Linked DNA regions of Homo sapiens: regions 1, 2 and 3 are each linked to region 4. The links are contacts of gene promoters, found by promoter capture Hi-C in blood cells and fetal thymus (Javierre and others, 2016). All regions are on one chromosome and are shown on one strand. Each heading gives the region's core, a stretch centred on a gene start or on the middle of the fragment in contact. The rest is flanking DNA. Distances are from core to core; before and after follow the strand shown.

Evidence for each region. Contacts are between HindIII fragments. The CHiCAGO score rates a contact against its expected background, and 5 or more counts as called.
Region 1: a fragment that was not itself captured here is called in contact with the fragment with the promoter of SMNDC1 in region 4 in 14 of 17 cell types (fetal thymus, M1 macrophages, M2 macrophages and 11 more); the score reaches 17.9 in fetal thymus.
Region 2: a contact is called between a fragment that was not itself captured here and the fragment with the promoter of SMNDC1 in region 4, in 4 of 17 cell types (activated CD4 T cells, monocytes, fetal thymus and 1 more). The highest score is 6.9, in activated CD4 T cells.
Region 3: a fragment that was not itself captured here is called in contact with the fragment with the promoter of SMNDC1 in region 4 in 5 of 17 cell types (naive B cells, M1 macrophages, M2 macrophages and 2 more); the score reaches 7.4 in naive B cells.

What each region holds. Positions count from the first base shown.
Region 1 is chr10:110,856,677-110,860,108 of GRCh38, reverse strand. LOC124902499 (a long non-coding RNA gene) reads left to right here and starts at 1,252. Exons shown (of 2, transcript XR_007062287.1): 1 at 1,252-1,473. RefSeq lists enhancers at 235-734, 2,020-2,149, 2,190-2,319 and a cis regulatory region at 2,155-2,524. The HindIII fragment of the contact is 844 bases long and covers 1,557-2,400 here.
Region 2 is chr10:110,976,769-110,979,903 of GRCh38, reverse strand. The region is part of intron 2 of SHOC2 (SHOC2 leucine rich repeat scaffold protein); the gene reads right to left. Among named protein-coding and RNA genes, the nearest start is that of MIR548E, 11 kb to the left of the region's middle. The HindIII fragment of the contact is 1,198 bases long and covers 1,004-2,201 here.
Region 3 is chr10:110,822,394-110,826,026 of GRCh38, reverse strand. It overlaps RBM20 (RNA binding motif protein 20), which reads right to left. Exons shown (of 14, transcript NM_001134363.3): 12 at 2,413-2,547. Among named protein-coding and RNA genes, the nearest start is that of PDCD4-AS1, 47 kb to the left of the region's middle. The HindIII fragment of the contact is 2,687 bases long and covers 279-2,965 here.
Region 4 is chr10:110,303,007-110,306,507 of GRCh38, reverse strand. It overlaps SMNDC1 (survival motor neuron domain containing 1), which reads left to right and starts at 1,588. Exons shown (of 6, transcript NM_005871.4): 1 at 1,588-1,760; 2 at 2,921-3,040. The coding sequence starts at 2,921. RefSeq lists a silencer at 1,757-2,076. The HindIII fragment of the contact is 6,895 bases long and covers 1-3,501 here.

The DNA.
Region 1 (3,432 bases), core at 729-3,228, 550 kb before region 4:
GTGGGTTTACTCCTGGTAATTTCGTTTCCTTTTCTCAGTTAACAGTCATGTGACACCATTGCCTGGGTGTCCTCTGCAGCCCTGGCCTTTTATCAGTTCATAAATCCAGAAACAGAAGGAATGCTTACAAAAATGTATGTGGACTCCACCATTTATTGAGTGACTGCTGTGTGCCTGCGTACTCCTTGGTCTCTGATCCTCATCACATCCAGCAAGATACTGCTATTATCCCCCTCACACAACAAATGAGGAAATTAAGGTTCAGAAAGGTCAAAAAAATCGCCCAAGGCCTCACAAGCAGTAAAGGGCAGGCTTGAGATTTGAAATTAGCCTGAGCTGTTTCAACACAAAACTCAATTCCAGCTCTTAAGGAGTTCCCAATCTACTGCCCTAAATACTGCCGAGGCCATTTCCCTCTCGAGTTTCCACTTGGGTCCTTCTTGGCCTGAGCTCCCTCTCCTCCCCTTTTCCCTCTGGGAGCAGACTCCTGCTGGCAAAAGGCTGGTGGTCTCCACTTCCCTTGCCTCCTGCCAGTGTAGGCAATGCAAACTTCTCACTGGAAAACACCATGCCTTCTGGACAAAGGCTCTGTGTGATGTTCTAGGACCTGCCCGACAGGCCTTCTGTGAAAAGACCCAGCTGGGGTAGCTGTGCTGCCAGGCCTTGGATGGGCAGAGTTCATAAACAGCTTCTCCAGCCATGGAGCTCCAAATGCACCCAAGCCAGGTGCTGCCTACCTCAGTGTCCAACCAGCCCCAGGGCTTGGCCAGACAGAGTCCTGTTCTGGGAAACCAGCAGGGCAGCTGGATGTTCAGGGGCGGAGGCTGTAGGTGGGCTCCTTCACAACAGAAAATAAGCTTCTGAGTCAGGCAGACCCTGCTTTAAATCCCTTTAAATCTACCACCTTCTACCTTCCTGACATTAGGAAAGTGGCTTCTAGCCGGGCGCGGTGCCTCATGCCTGTAATCCCAACATTTTGGGAGGCCGAGGCAGGTGGATCATGAGGTCAGGAGTTCAAGACCAGCCTGGCCAACATGATGAAACCTTGTCTCTACTAAAAATACAAAAATTAGCTGGGCGTGGTGGCACATGCCTGTAATCCCAGCTACTCAGGAGGCTGAGGTAGGAGAATTGCTTGAATCTAGGAGGCAGAGGTTACAGTGAGCTGAGATCATTTCACTGCACTCCAGCCTGGGCAACAGAGCAAGAGTCCATCACAAAAAAAAAAAAAAAAAAAAAAAAGAGAAAGTGACTTCTGCTGCCAGAGCCTCAGCTCCCTCACCTATAGATGAAACTCATAACATCTACTGTCCCTAGCCCAACACTTGGATCTCAGTCTCTTCATCTCCTGAAATAGAAGAGTTGGACCACATGACCTTGAGATTACTATCTGAAACACTTCCTATGCAGGCTGGGGTGAAGGTGTCCTTCCTGCTCCTGGGTTCAGTGAGGAATTTAGATGTCTTTCTCAAGGTAAGTTCATCCCTGTGGGAGAGTCCCTGGTTTAATTCAATAAATTTTATTGGGCACCCCATAATGCATACCATACTAAAGCTTCAACGTACAAAGATAAACAAGCATAGGCCCTGCCCTTAAGGAACTGATAGACTAGGCCAGCAGGAATGATAAGACTCATAAAAACAACCATTGTACATAGTGGAAAGTGATAAGTGCACAAGGAGGGGTACAGATAAAAGACCAGGAAGGTTGAGAGCAGGCAGAGGGTGACTCTGGGCTGGGAGGGAGCTAAAGATGTGGCCAGTCCATAAAGAGTCTTGAATGAGTTTGGACTTTATAGGGCCAACTGTTGAAAGCTCTTAAAGGTTTCTGACCAGGCAGTGGGCAGATCAGAGCCATGGGGGCTGGAGCTTTTTGTTAGTCTTCTACCATCTGGAGTAGTCAGACCGTAGAATTTCTAAAAGGGAAAGGGCCCTTTTCCACCATTTTCACAAGGGTTTTGTTCCCTGGATGAAACCGTTCAAGATTTGCATAAAATGTGCAGCTGTCAATGGCTGCCCTTTGTTCTGGCCCTGAATCTTCTGCAGCATGATGCCTACTGTCTTTCTTCTCTGTGCCCTCTCACCCAGCTGTCTCCCTGCATGAAAGACAAGAGAATGAGGCACATGGGGCAGGAGGCCGGCACCCAGCTCAGGGAAACAGTCCTGCCTCAACAAAGTCCCCTGGGACCTTTGCTGCCGTACCGCCTTGCCTTGGCCCAGGTCCCAGGATTATGGGAGAGAGTTGGCCTGTTGAGGAGAGAATGTGTCAGTGAGTTGCAGTGCCTTGAGTCTCCTGAGACGTGTGCGTGTGTGTGTTCAGGACTAGGTGTTTTGCAGCTGATTTCAATCTAGGTCAGAATTGTGCAACCCTCAGCACGTTGCTATCTAGAGAAGATAAGCTTGAACAATCCCTTCCAGGACCAGCAGCGATAAACTACGGCTCTGAATGTAAACACAGCTGTTTGGCAAGCTCTAATTTCTGGAAATGAAGGGGCCTGCTGCATTAGCAGAAGGGATCCAGGTGTATCATGGAGTTGTTTAAACCTCCCAGAGGGGCTACTGCTGACCCTCTCTTCTGAAGAAAAGTCCAGGAGAGGTGCTGGTGAGCTTTGCCCCAGTCACGCTTCTACCACTTGGCTCATCCAAGCCAAAACTGACAGGGCCATGGATGGAGGAAGACACCCACTCACTTGCCATGTGGCCTTGACTGAGTCATCTTGTCTTATTGGCATCCATGTCCCCATCCGTAAAATGGAGCTAGTGCAGTAAAACCACATCAGTGTGAAAGCAAAGAAAATCTCAAAAGACCTGTGAACGAGCAGAAGAAATGACCTCTCTTATCAGTCTATCCCCTTTACTCAGATAAAAATCCCTTAGAGCTCCTCCTGGAGCCTGTGTTTTCTTGGTTGTTTTTTTTTTTTTTTAACTTTTTTTTTTTTTTATACTTTAAGTTTTAGGGTACATGTGCACATTGTGCAGGTTAGTTACATATGTATACATGTGCCATGCTGGTGCGCTGCACCCACTAACTCGTCATCTAGCATTAGGTATATCTCCCAATGCTATCCCTTCCCCCTTCCCCCTCCCCCCACCCCACCACAGTCCCCAGACCAGAGTGTGATATTCCCCTTCCTGTGTCCATGTGATCTCATTGTTCAATTCCCACCTATGAGTGAGAATATGCGGTGTTTGGTTTTTTGTTCTTGCGATAGTATACTGAGAATGATGGCTTCCAATTTCATCCATGTCCCTACAAAGGACATGAACTCATCATTTTTTATGGCTGCATAGTATTCCATGGTGTATATGTGCCACATTTTCTTAATCCAGTCTATCATTGTTGGACATTTGGGTTGGTTCCAAGTCTTTGCTATTGTGAATAATGCCGCAATAAACATACGTGTGCATGTGTCTTTATAGCAGTATGATTTAT
Region 2 (3,135 bases), core at 353-2,852, 670 kb before region 4:
AGAATCAGAACAACAACAAAATTCTCTGATCCGAAGATACTGAGCTTGGGTTGATAGAGAAGATAAGATGCAATTATGAGAGAGGAATGGAATCCACAAGGAAGAAAAGTTGAGCTGAAGTTACAGTTTGGTCATGAAGAATTTAAGATATCAGTGAGACATCTACGTAAAATATTTAGTGGCTAACTATGGGGGAAAAAGATGAAGAAAATGTTATCATGGTAGAACATTTTTGTCCTAAGAGAAAGCTGGATTTAACATCTGCAAACACTGAGCTCTGGCTAAGGGTGGTGAAGTCGTGTTGATAATTTAAAACTGTGGATAAAATACTTAAAGGCATACAGGGAGACCAAAGTTAAAACTAGAGGGAATTTACCCTTAAAAGAAGAGAACTGTAATAGGCAGACTTCTAAGATAACCCCCAATGGCCCTGCCTCATGAATAATTGTATACGTTATATAATTACCCCTCCCCTTGAGTGTGGGCTAAACTTAGTGACTTGCTTCTTACCAACAGAATATGGCAAAGGTGATGGGATGTCACATTTGTGATTCAGTTACAAAAGATTCTGACTTCCACCTTGCTAGCACTTTATTGATGTCTTAGCTTACACGCTTTGATAAGGCAAGCTGCCATGTTGAAAAGACCCATGTGAAAAGGAACTAAGAGCAGTCTCCAGCCAACAGCAAGAAATTGAAGCCCTCTCTCCAGCAACCTGCTAGGAACTAAGTCCTAACAAAAACTACATGAGTTGGGATGTGTATCCTTTCCCAGATGAGTCTTCCCAAGCCCTGGCTAACACTATAACTGAAAAACCTTGTGAGAGACACTAAATCAGAAGGTCCAGTTAAGTTGTGCCTGATACCCAAAACAAAGAAACTATAAGATAACAAATGATTGTTGTTATAAGAGTTATCTTTTAGAGTAATTTGTTACACAACAATAGATAACTAATACAGCAATCACATGAGATTTACTTTCATAAATGCCTTTTTATAAAGCTTTTACCATGAAGTAACTAAAAAATCTGCAGGTGAAAAGTAAATCTCAAGTCGAAGGCCAGAGTCCTACTGCCTAAGAAGCCAAAGGACAGAGTTCAGGGTTATAAGAGTGACTGGAATTCAAGGTTGGATACTCTGTAAAGGAGGAAATCACAAAGAGCAGAGCCCTAAAATCTTCAAATACACACTCCTCAAATTCTTGCTGACTCCGAAAATACATGTGGGAGAGGAGACTGCAAGGAGCCCAAGGGGAGAACCACAGCTAGAAGGCTAAAGGAGCTGAGCAGAGATTTCAACAGTTGCCAACTGTGGTCTTTAAGAGTTTGGATTTTCAGTCTTGTCAAGTTGCTGGAGAGTAATAAACAAAATTCCAAAAGGGCTATAACATAGGAGAGTAAAGATCACATCTCAAAACTAAGGAATTTACCCTAGGTTTAAGGCTATAACCAAATAGCATCACCCTTACAAGAGCTAAATCTAAGTCTCTACGGTCAAGGTGACTCAACAGCAATTTAACCGCCTAGCAGAACAAAATGTAACACTTTTCAGAGGATAATGGAATCCACAGGAGTTACAGTATTAGCTATTTATACTAGCCAATCAAGAATTACTAGACTGTCTTCTATTTACCACCATGATGCAACTAGAAAATGAACAAAATGTTTGAGAAAATGGTTTGCAGACTGCAGACAACAGCCATATATGACTGTATTCCCTTGTATCACAGGAAAACAACAGAAGTCCCATGATTGCCCCAGGTTACTGCCTGGAGGCAGGTTCCAGGTCACAGAAAAAGCAGGGAAGGAATATAGAACAAGGGCCAATAGTTATTACTAAGTTAGGGCAAACGATTTTAGTCTAGGAAAGCCAAGATGGTTAGAATTTGGGAGGCAGAACTGGAGACAGAAGAGAGCAGCAAATAGATTTGTGCAATCTGCAAGAAAGTCTTATGCAGTGTTTGCCTAAATTCTTATCTGCATTAGGTACAAACAGACTACCAAAGGCTAGGCAAAGACCTAGCAGCAGCAACCCAAACAATTCCCAGCAGTCACACAAGGTTGTGAATAGTGTGAATTCCTACCAGCCACAAAAAGACCTCATAATATATAGTTTATCAGGGAGTCATCAAAATTTATTACCTTAGTAGTGGGGTTAAATTAGATGTAGACAAAAGGCTACTAAAACTACCATAACAAAGCTTAAAAGCAAGCCACGAAAGGATTAAACTGACTACAGAAAAATTTAACTGTATGCCAGAACAAAGTCCAGCACTATTAAAAGAATACAACAAAATCCAAGACTCAACAATGTGAAAATGTTATGAAGCTCACATCCAATTAAAAATTACTAAACATGCAGGATGGGTACGGTGGCTCACGCCTGTAATCCCAGCACTTTGGGAGGCTGAGGCGGGCGGATCACCTGAGGTTGGGAGTTTGAGACCAGCCTGACCAACATGGAGAAACCCCATCTCTACTAAAAACACAAAATTAGCCGGGTGTGGTGGTGCATGCTTCTAATCTCAGCTACTCGGGAGGCAGGAGAATCGCTTGAACCCAGAAGGCAGAGACTGCGGTGGGCCGAGATCACACCATTGCACTCCAGCCTGGGCAACAAGAGCAAAACTCTGTCTCAAAAAAAAATTACCAGACATGCAAAGAAGCAGGAAAATATGACCCACAACCAGGAGAAAAATCATTCTGTAGCAACAAAAACAAAAATAAAAGAGGAAACTATAAGACAAGGACAGTGAAAAAGCTGTTAAACAATGAGCTCCATATGTTCAAGGTAAAGAAAACTTGAATAAAAATGACACCCAATGGAATGTATAGAGGTGAGAAATAAAATACCTGGTATGAAAACTTCATTGTATAGAACAGTAAGATTTAGACACTGAAGAAGAAATGATATACAGCAACAACAAAAAAATAGCAATAAAATTATCTAAAATATACATGGACACACATGGACAAACAGAGCATCAATGACTTAAAATGTAAAGTCTAATATACATGTAATAAGAGACTCAGATAATAGAAAAAAAATGACCAAGTAAGGGAAAAGTTACAAGAAATAATGGCCAAAATTTTTCTAATTTTGATGAAAACCATAAACCCACAGATCCAAGAGGCTT
Region 3 (3,633 bases), core at 373-2,872, 520 kb before region 4:
GGAACACTGGCATACACATACCACTGAACAAGCACATCTGAAAGGCAGCAGAGAACAGAAGCTAAGAACATGGCTCTAGAGTCAGATGACTGGGATTTGAACCTGACTCTGGTTTTTGCCAGTTATTAGCTGTGTGACTCTGCATTTCAGATTTTTTATCTGTTAAATAAGGATAAAAACAGCACCTACCTCATAGGTGTTTTGAGAGGGTTAAATGTGATAATACATACAGATCCCTAGGGATGGTGCCTGCATGGGGAATGTTAACAATAAAAGCTTAGCTATTAAAATGGGAAAAAGAGCAGACAGCCTAACTGTTCACCAGCAGAGGAAAGATCAGTCATTTATAGCATAGCTTTTACGATGGAATATTTGCAGTGGTTAAAAAGAATGTGTTCTCTATGTACTGACATGAAGAAATGTCTAAGACCTGCTACTAAGTGAACTTGCAGAACATTATGTGTGTAGTGTGATCCCATTTTTGTGAGAGAAAAACTGGGCATGACAGTGGTAGGCTACCTCTGGAGACTGGGGAGAGACTGGAGGGAAGAGATCAATCAGACCTTTAATATTGACTTGATATGGTTCTTATTTTTTGAATTTGTTACAATAATCTTTCACACTTTCTATAATGAAAAACAGTAGTAAAACACAAATTACAAGGTAGCAGAATTTATTCTTAATTTTTGCTAGTATCAATTAGGTTCCAAGTTCTTGGATGACAAGAGACTTGCGTTATATTTCTTGGTTACCCCAGAGTGTCTAGCACAGTACCATGTTATCCAGTAAGTATTTGCTGACTGACTGAATGCATGAAGGAGCCCTCTCTTCTCCTGCAGGGTGGCCTTTGCAACTGTTTTCTAGAGCTAAAATACCCAGGGTCATCTCAGTTTATTCTAAAGTTAGTATTTCTTTTTCCTTCTTTCTTATGTTTTTGTCTTGGGAGATGCTGTGCAGCAAATTTATCCCTTAAAAAAAAAAGGAAGTTTGCTCTCCAGATCTGACTATAAAAATGGTACACCTGGAGGAAAGAAATAGTAAGAGATTTTTTTAAAGGAGAAGGGAAAAAAAGAGCAAGTTGGATGGAAAGGACGAGCCTCCACACTGACCAGCCCCTCCCTGCATGATCAGACACGTGGTCATCAGGCATCAGATGACCCGTGCTTTTTATGCTTCCTTGTGACACTTTCCCAGGTGACACTTTCCTGAGCTCTCCTTCTGAGCAGCTGCTACTACTACTTTATCTAATTCCGACCTTTCAGAGCTAATGCGAGGGGACTCAAAGATGATGTAGGCTGGAGTTGCTGGGTTAGTGGTTGTGTCAGAATCTCCCAGGGAACTTTCTTAAAGTGCCTTCACTCCCTACCCTGAGACTCTGCTTAACTCTTCTCTTTGAAAAGGGATTCATTCCTAGGTGATTCCATCAGTAAACTCCCTCCCCACTTCATTCCCAACACTTCCACCATTGAAAAAATCGCTGTCTAAATTACAGAGAGGAAACTAAGGCTCAAGAAGGGGTATGACTTACCTGAGGGCACACAGTCACCCATAAGTAGGAAGAACAGAAACCCAGGTCTCCCTGTTCAATACCCTTTCTATGAACTAGGGGTAGTCTGCCCCAAACACATTCTATTCAGCATCATTGCCTCAGAAAAGTTGGTCCTTTAAAGAGAAAAAAATATGTAGCATTGTTCTGGGAAGGACTGGAGCAATGAACAATAGCAGACGAAGTTCATTTTTGTTGACTTTATGGAGGCTGCTGGGCATCTGCTTTCCTGCCTGAATAAAGGCTAGGCTTAAAGACTCCATGTCATCAAGAATAAAGCATTCCCTGACAGGAAAAACAGGACTTCTTAGTTCTGGGTCCCAGGGCACTGTTATTCAAGGCTGTTTTCACGGAGTATCTGGTCTATTACGGGAGACTGAAATTGCAAGAAAGTTTACAGCCGCCCCTTGCAAATCTAGGTTATTGCATCATACACTTAAAATAACGATAGGCCGGCCAGGTGAAGTGGCTCACACCTGTAGTCCCAGCACTTTGGGAAGCTGAGGCAGGAGGATCACTTAAGCCCAGGAGGTGAAGACCAGCCTGGGCCACATATGGAGACCCCATCTCTGCAAAAAAAAAAAAAATTAAAAAAATTAGCCGGGCCTGGTGGTGTGTACCTGTTGTCCAAGTTTCTCAGGAGGCTGAGGTGGGAGGATCACTTGAGCCCAGGAATTTGAGGCTGCAGTGAGCTGAGATCATGCCACTGCACTGCAGCCTGGGTGACAGAGTGAGACCTTGTCTCAAAAGAACAAAAAACGATGTCAACAACAAAATGCCAAAAAGCTCTCTCAAGCTCTTGAGGTTGCTATGGAACTGTTATTTCCTAGACCTGAATTTCAGGAAAGACTGTGTGTTTTGCTTACCTAGAGGAATGCTAAGTTCACTGAACACATCCTCTGGTTCCCAAGAGGGCAAAGAAAGGGGCTGTTTCAGTTCCACTTCAGTGTACTCTGGTGACCTCACCTCCAGAGATTTCATTTCCACGTACCTGGAGTTTTCTGCAAAACATGAACCAAGGCAAAAAAAAAAAAAAAAAAAAAAAAAAAGAAATACAACATGCCTCAAAGAGTCCCTGAAATTCTATGCCTGCATAGTATGATTGGGAATTGTTCCTTGGACTGCTTAATCACATAAGGCTGGGGCAATGGTTGCTAATTAGAACCAAAGCACTGTCATTAGGAGCTTTTTCCACTGCCAAAAGAATGCCACACACAATAAAACTTGGCAAATGTTTGCATTTGGCCCAGGGGGATGGGCTGCTGATGCCTTCAGTTGAGAAGATCCACCCCCCACCCCCCATGCCTCCCATCTCAGTATCATTCCATCTCTGCAGGCAGAGGAATTACTGACGGGCAAAAATTGTGCTGACGTCCACCGAGGCTAGCAAAACAGGCAATGCCATTCTCTCCCCAAGCTTGTCAAGCTGTTATTAAATATGAACCCCAAACACTGGGTCAGTTAATGAGCCTCTAACACTGGCACATGTTGAGACCTATACCGCAAAATAAAAGGGGCTTGATTGGAGTGAGGTGAAGATTTCACTCCTCCTTTATTCTTGCCTTCTCTAGACAGAGCCTGGGCCTCACGGTTTCTCTAGCAACAAGAAGGCATTTCACGGCGGGGTTTCCATGGAAACTCAGATCCGTGCAGGTAAAAAACAGCTCAGGTCAGCTTGACATGGAAAAAATCCCAAGCCTCCCAGTTACCTAACAGCTCATGCCACCCACAGGGCCCTGGGTTGAAATGTTCATTTTTAAGCCTTTCCTCTGTATTTTCTGCCCCTGACTCTCACTTCAACCTCTGGTGTGCTACAGGCTTTCTGTAAAGCAAATCCCTAATTATTTTCACAGTGAGAATCTTAAAGGCTACTCTCTCTCCCTCCCCCCAAACCCCCTGATGGATCTTAAGTTCCACTTGGCAGAGAAGACGGGGCTTAGCCTATTTTAAACTCTCTCTTTCATGATGTCACAGTGCCGGGCATAGGCACAAAACGTCACCTCCAATGGAGTGAGAGAATATCCTGAAACAAGTCTTGTATCACTGTCAGACCCTAGCAAAAAATGGGTCTGAGGTAGTAAGAAGGG
Region 4 (3,501 bases), core at 339-2,838:
TCCTCGCATCGGTTCTTAAAACACACAATTACAATAACAGAAGTTCTCTAAAACTACATTTTATTTTAAACGAATATTTATTTAAAAGCACATGCTTTCTGTTTTGTCTGCCTTCTTAATTCTAGCTACACACTGCTGCCCTCTGCTGCAATTTCAATCTTTCACACTCACAAACCCGACCTAGTTTCCATCTATACAGGTTATCTGACTCACTGCAAGGGTTATGTGTGTGTGTGTAGAGAACAAAAGGGAAGGCTCCTTGAAAAGAAAACTAGGAACTAAAGATGTTGGCACAGTTCAAAAGAGCCCATCTGAGAAGTGGGCCTTTTTTTTTTTTTTTGAGACGGAGTTTCACTCTTGCTGCCCAGGCTGGAGTGCAATGGCACGATCTCGGCTCACCGCAACCGCCGCCTCCAGGTTCAAGCGATTCTCCTGCCTCAGCCACCCGAGCAGCTGGGATTACAGGAATGCACCAACATGCTCGGCTTTTTGTTGTTGTTGTTGTTGTTGGTTTTTTTTTTTTGTATTTTTAGTAGAGACGGGGTTTCTCCACGTGGTCGAGCTGGTCTCGAACTCCTGACCTCAGGTGATCCGCGAGAAGTGGGCCTTTTTATGGATCCAGCAACAAACTCCCAACCTCCCAGGAAAGGTTGCTTCCTGTCATCTATATAAAACTTTGTGTCTCAGGCCTTTATTGCTTTTTTAATTGAAATAAATTATATATATATGGTTTAAAAAAAAAAGAAAAGGAAAAAGGGTAAACAGCAAAGAGGGTAATCAATAAAACATTTGGCTTCCACTCCAAACCTCTGAACAGTTTTGTGTATCCGTCCAGAAAGCGTATATATTATTACAAACATACACAAGGGGCATTTCTTTTTGAACACAAATGTGAGTATTCCTACCACTCTTTACCATTCTAGACTAACTTGGACGTTGTTCCCTATCAGGCGAGATTAACCCAACTAAATTAAAACCAAGTAGGTTTTAACAAAACAGATTTTAAAGAAATCAATCTTCTCTCCAATAGGTTATTTCTGTCACGATTTAATTAGCTTTCTGTTACTACTAAGGCTTGTATCATATAAAGTAGTGGTTCTCAGGCTGGGCGCGGTGGCTCACGCCTGTAATCCTAGCATTTTGGGATGCCGATGCAGGAGGATAGCTTGAGCCCAGGAGCTGGAGACCAGCCAGGGCAACGTAAAGAGAGCCCCCACCAACACCCCCCGCCACCCACCACCACCGCCCCGGAAAAGCAGTGGTTCTCAAACGTCAGCGGACATTGGTATCATCTGGTGAGCTTATTAAAACAAGAGTCTCTGGATTCAGGAGGTCTGGGGTGGGGCTTGAGAATTTGCATTTCCAATAAATTCCAAGCCGGAACTCCAGGAAGATAACCTGCATTCCGCGCCTGGCGAAGCCCAGCTACGCCATTTCCTTCCTAGGCCCCGCCTACTTCGTGTCCCTGACAGCCAGGGACTGGCTAGAGGGCGCGCGGAGTCACGTGAGTCGAGCGACCTCGCGCGAGAGTTTGTATTTCTCGCGAGACTTCACCGTCTCTGTCTTTTCCTCCTTCCAGTGCCCGGCGTTCCTCCCTTCCCCCTCGCCGCCGACCGAGTTCTTCCTTTTCAGACCGGGTCGCCTTGCTGTCGTCGCGGTGATTTTCCTGCTACTGCTACTGCTGCTGCTGCCACCGCCACTACCACTGGGCTCATTTGCCCCGACCCCTTCCCGCCGCCCCGCCCCCAGCCCCACACAAGGTAACAACCCCCCTGAGGGAGAGAGTAAGGCCTGGCCGGGCCCGGGTCCCTCCCGAGGTGAAGCGGAGGCCCAAGGCTGAGGAGCCCGCCTCGCCGGAGACGCCCAGGCGCTGGCCCTGGATCCCGGAGCCACGGCCGTCTCTCAGCCAGAGCTGAGCCTCGGCGGCCCGGCCGGCGCTGGCCTCCGTGCGGCGGCGGCAAACACGGCCCGCAGGGGACCGGGTCGGGTGGGGCTGGGCGCCGCGCGGCTCCCTGTGGAGCCTGCCTGTTGGAGCGCGGCGGGGCTCCGGCGGTGGTCTTGGAGCTGGCGTGTGGATTTCCACGTCCGAATGATCGAGTTGTGGCGGGCTTTGAGGTGCTGCGTGGCGGGGAGGAGAGCAGCCTGGGTCGCTGTAACTCTTAGGGGGCCTTTGCAGGCTCCCAGCCTTTGGTTGGACGGGAATTTTACGAAGGAGAAGGGTCCTCGGAAACGTGGTACATTTGCTTATAAACCATCAAAAAAGGTTAATTGGTATCTTATTTTCAGGAAAATGACTGAGCTGGATTTGGCGAAAGGCACATTCGTTAGAATGCCTAAATGGGAGAGTACCTGTGCTGTTCTTTTTGCTGAAGATAATGCACCGATAAATATTTAAGCGACTGGGCGAAAGATTTTTGTTTTGGAGAGGCACTTTTAAATACACTCTTAATTGAATAGTTCAAGTAAAGATCGTAGTTTGTGTAGTTAATTTAAAAACGCACTTGTTTGGCTTTGGAAGCATACTGTAGTGCTTAAAAATAAGTATTTGGATTGTTTTTGAAAGTTTCGACTTTTCCAACAGAGTAGTGCTTTTTAAAAAGATAACACTGATTATTGAGCCGAATTCAGCACCTACCCTGTGGATAGGAGTTAAAAGAAAATTAGAAATTTCTTTGTATCTGTATGCTTTTTTAAAGTATGGAATGTATCTCAAGTTTATAATCCTCAGAATCTGTTGCCTTTAAGTTTGTGGTTTAGCTGAAGTCTAAACTGAGAGTAAAGGTAATGGTGGTAAATTAAGCTGCAGTGTTAGAAGGAGTTAGAGGCAAAAACTGGTAATTCAGGCAGACAGGGGAGTTAGTTTTTTATGCCTTGATTTTTGGTTTAGTTTTCATGGTCTAACCCTTTTTATTTTCCCTAGATGTCAGAGGATTTAGCAAAGCAGCTGGCAAGCTACAAAGCTCAGCTCCAGCAAGTTGAAGCTGCATTATCTGGAAATGGAGAAAATGAAGATTTGCTAAAATTGAAGAAAGATTTACAAGTAAGTATGGGTAGACAATTGTACTTTTTCTCTGTTTTTCAAATTATTGCTTGAATCCCTAAGTACCCAAAGCGCCTTTTGAGGGGTTACACCCCACCCTATGTATATATGTAAATTCTGTAGGTACCATTGCTTGTAGAAGTAGGGTTGCTTCCCCAGTTCTCAGGTTTCTGTACATCAGAGTGAAATATTGTTCTTTGTTATATAAATCTTGTGTGCTTACATAATTTTTAAAAACTAAAGTTGATAGAAATTTCCAAGTCTGTCAGATTTTCAAGACGAGAGGTACATGTAACTTCACAATGAAAAACGCTTTTAGTTTTTAAGACCTGGCAAATGAAATTTAGTTCAAAAAGTAACAAAGATTGAAGGAGAAAAATAGAACCTTAAGATTCTTTTTAATACCACAAGATTCTTTGAAAATGCGTGCCTTTTTTTTTTCCCCAAAGCTAGTGGATTAC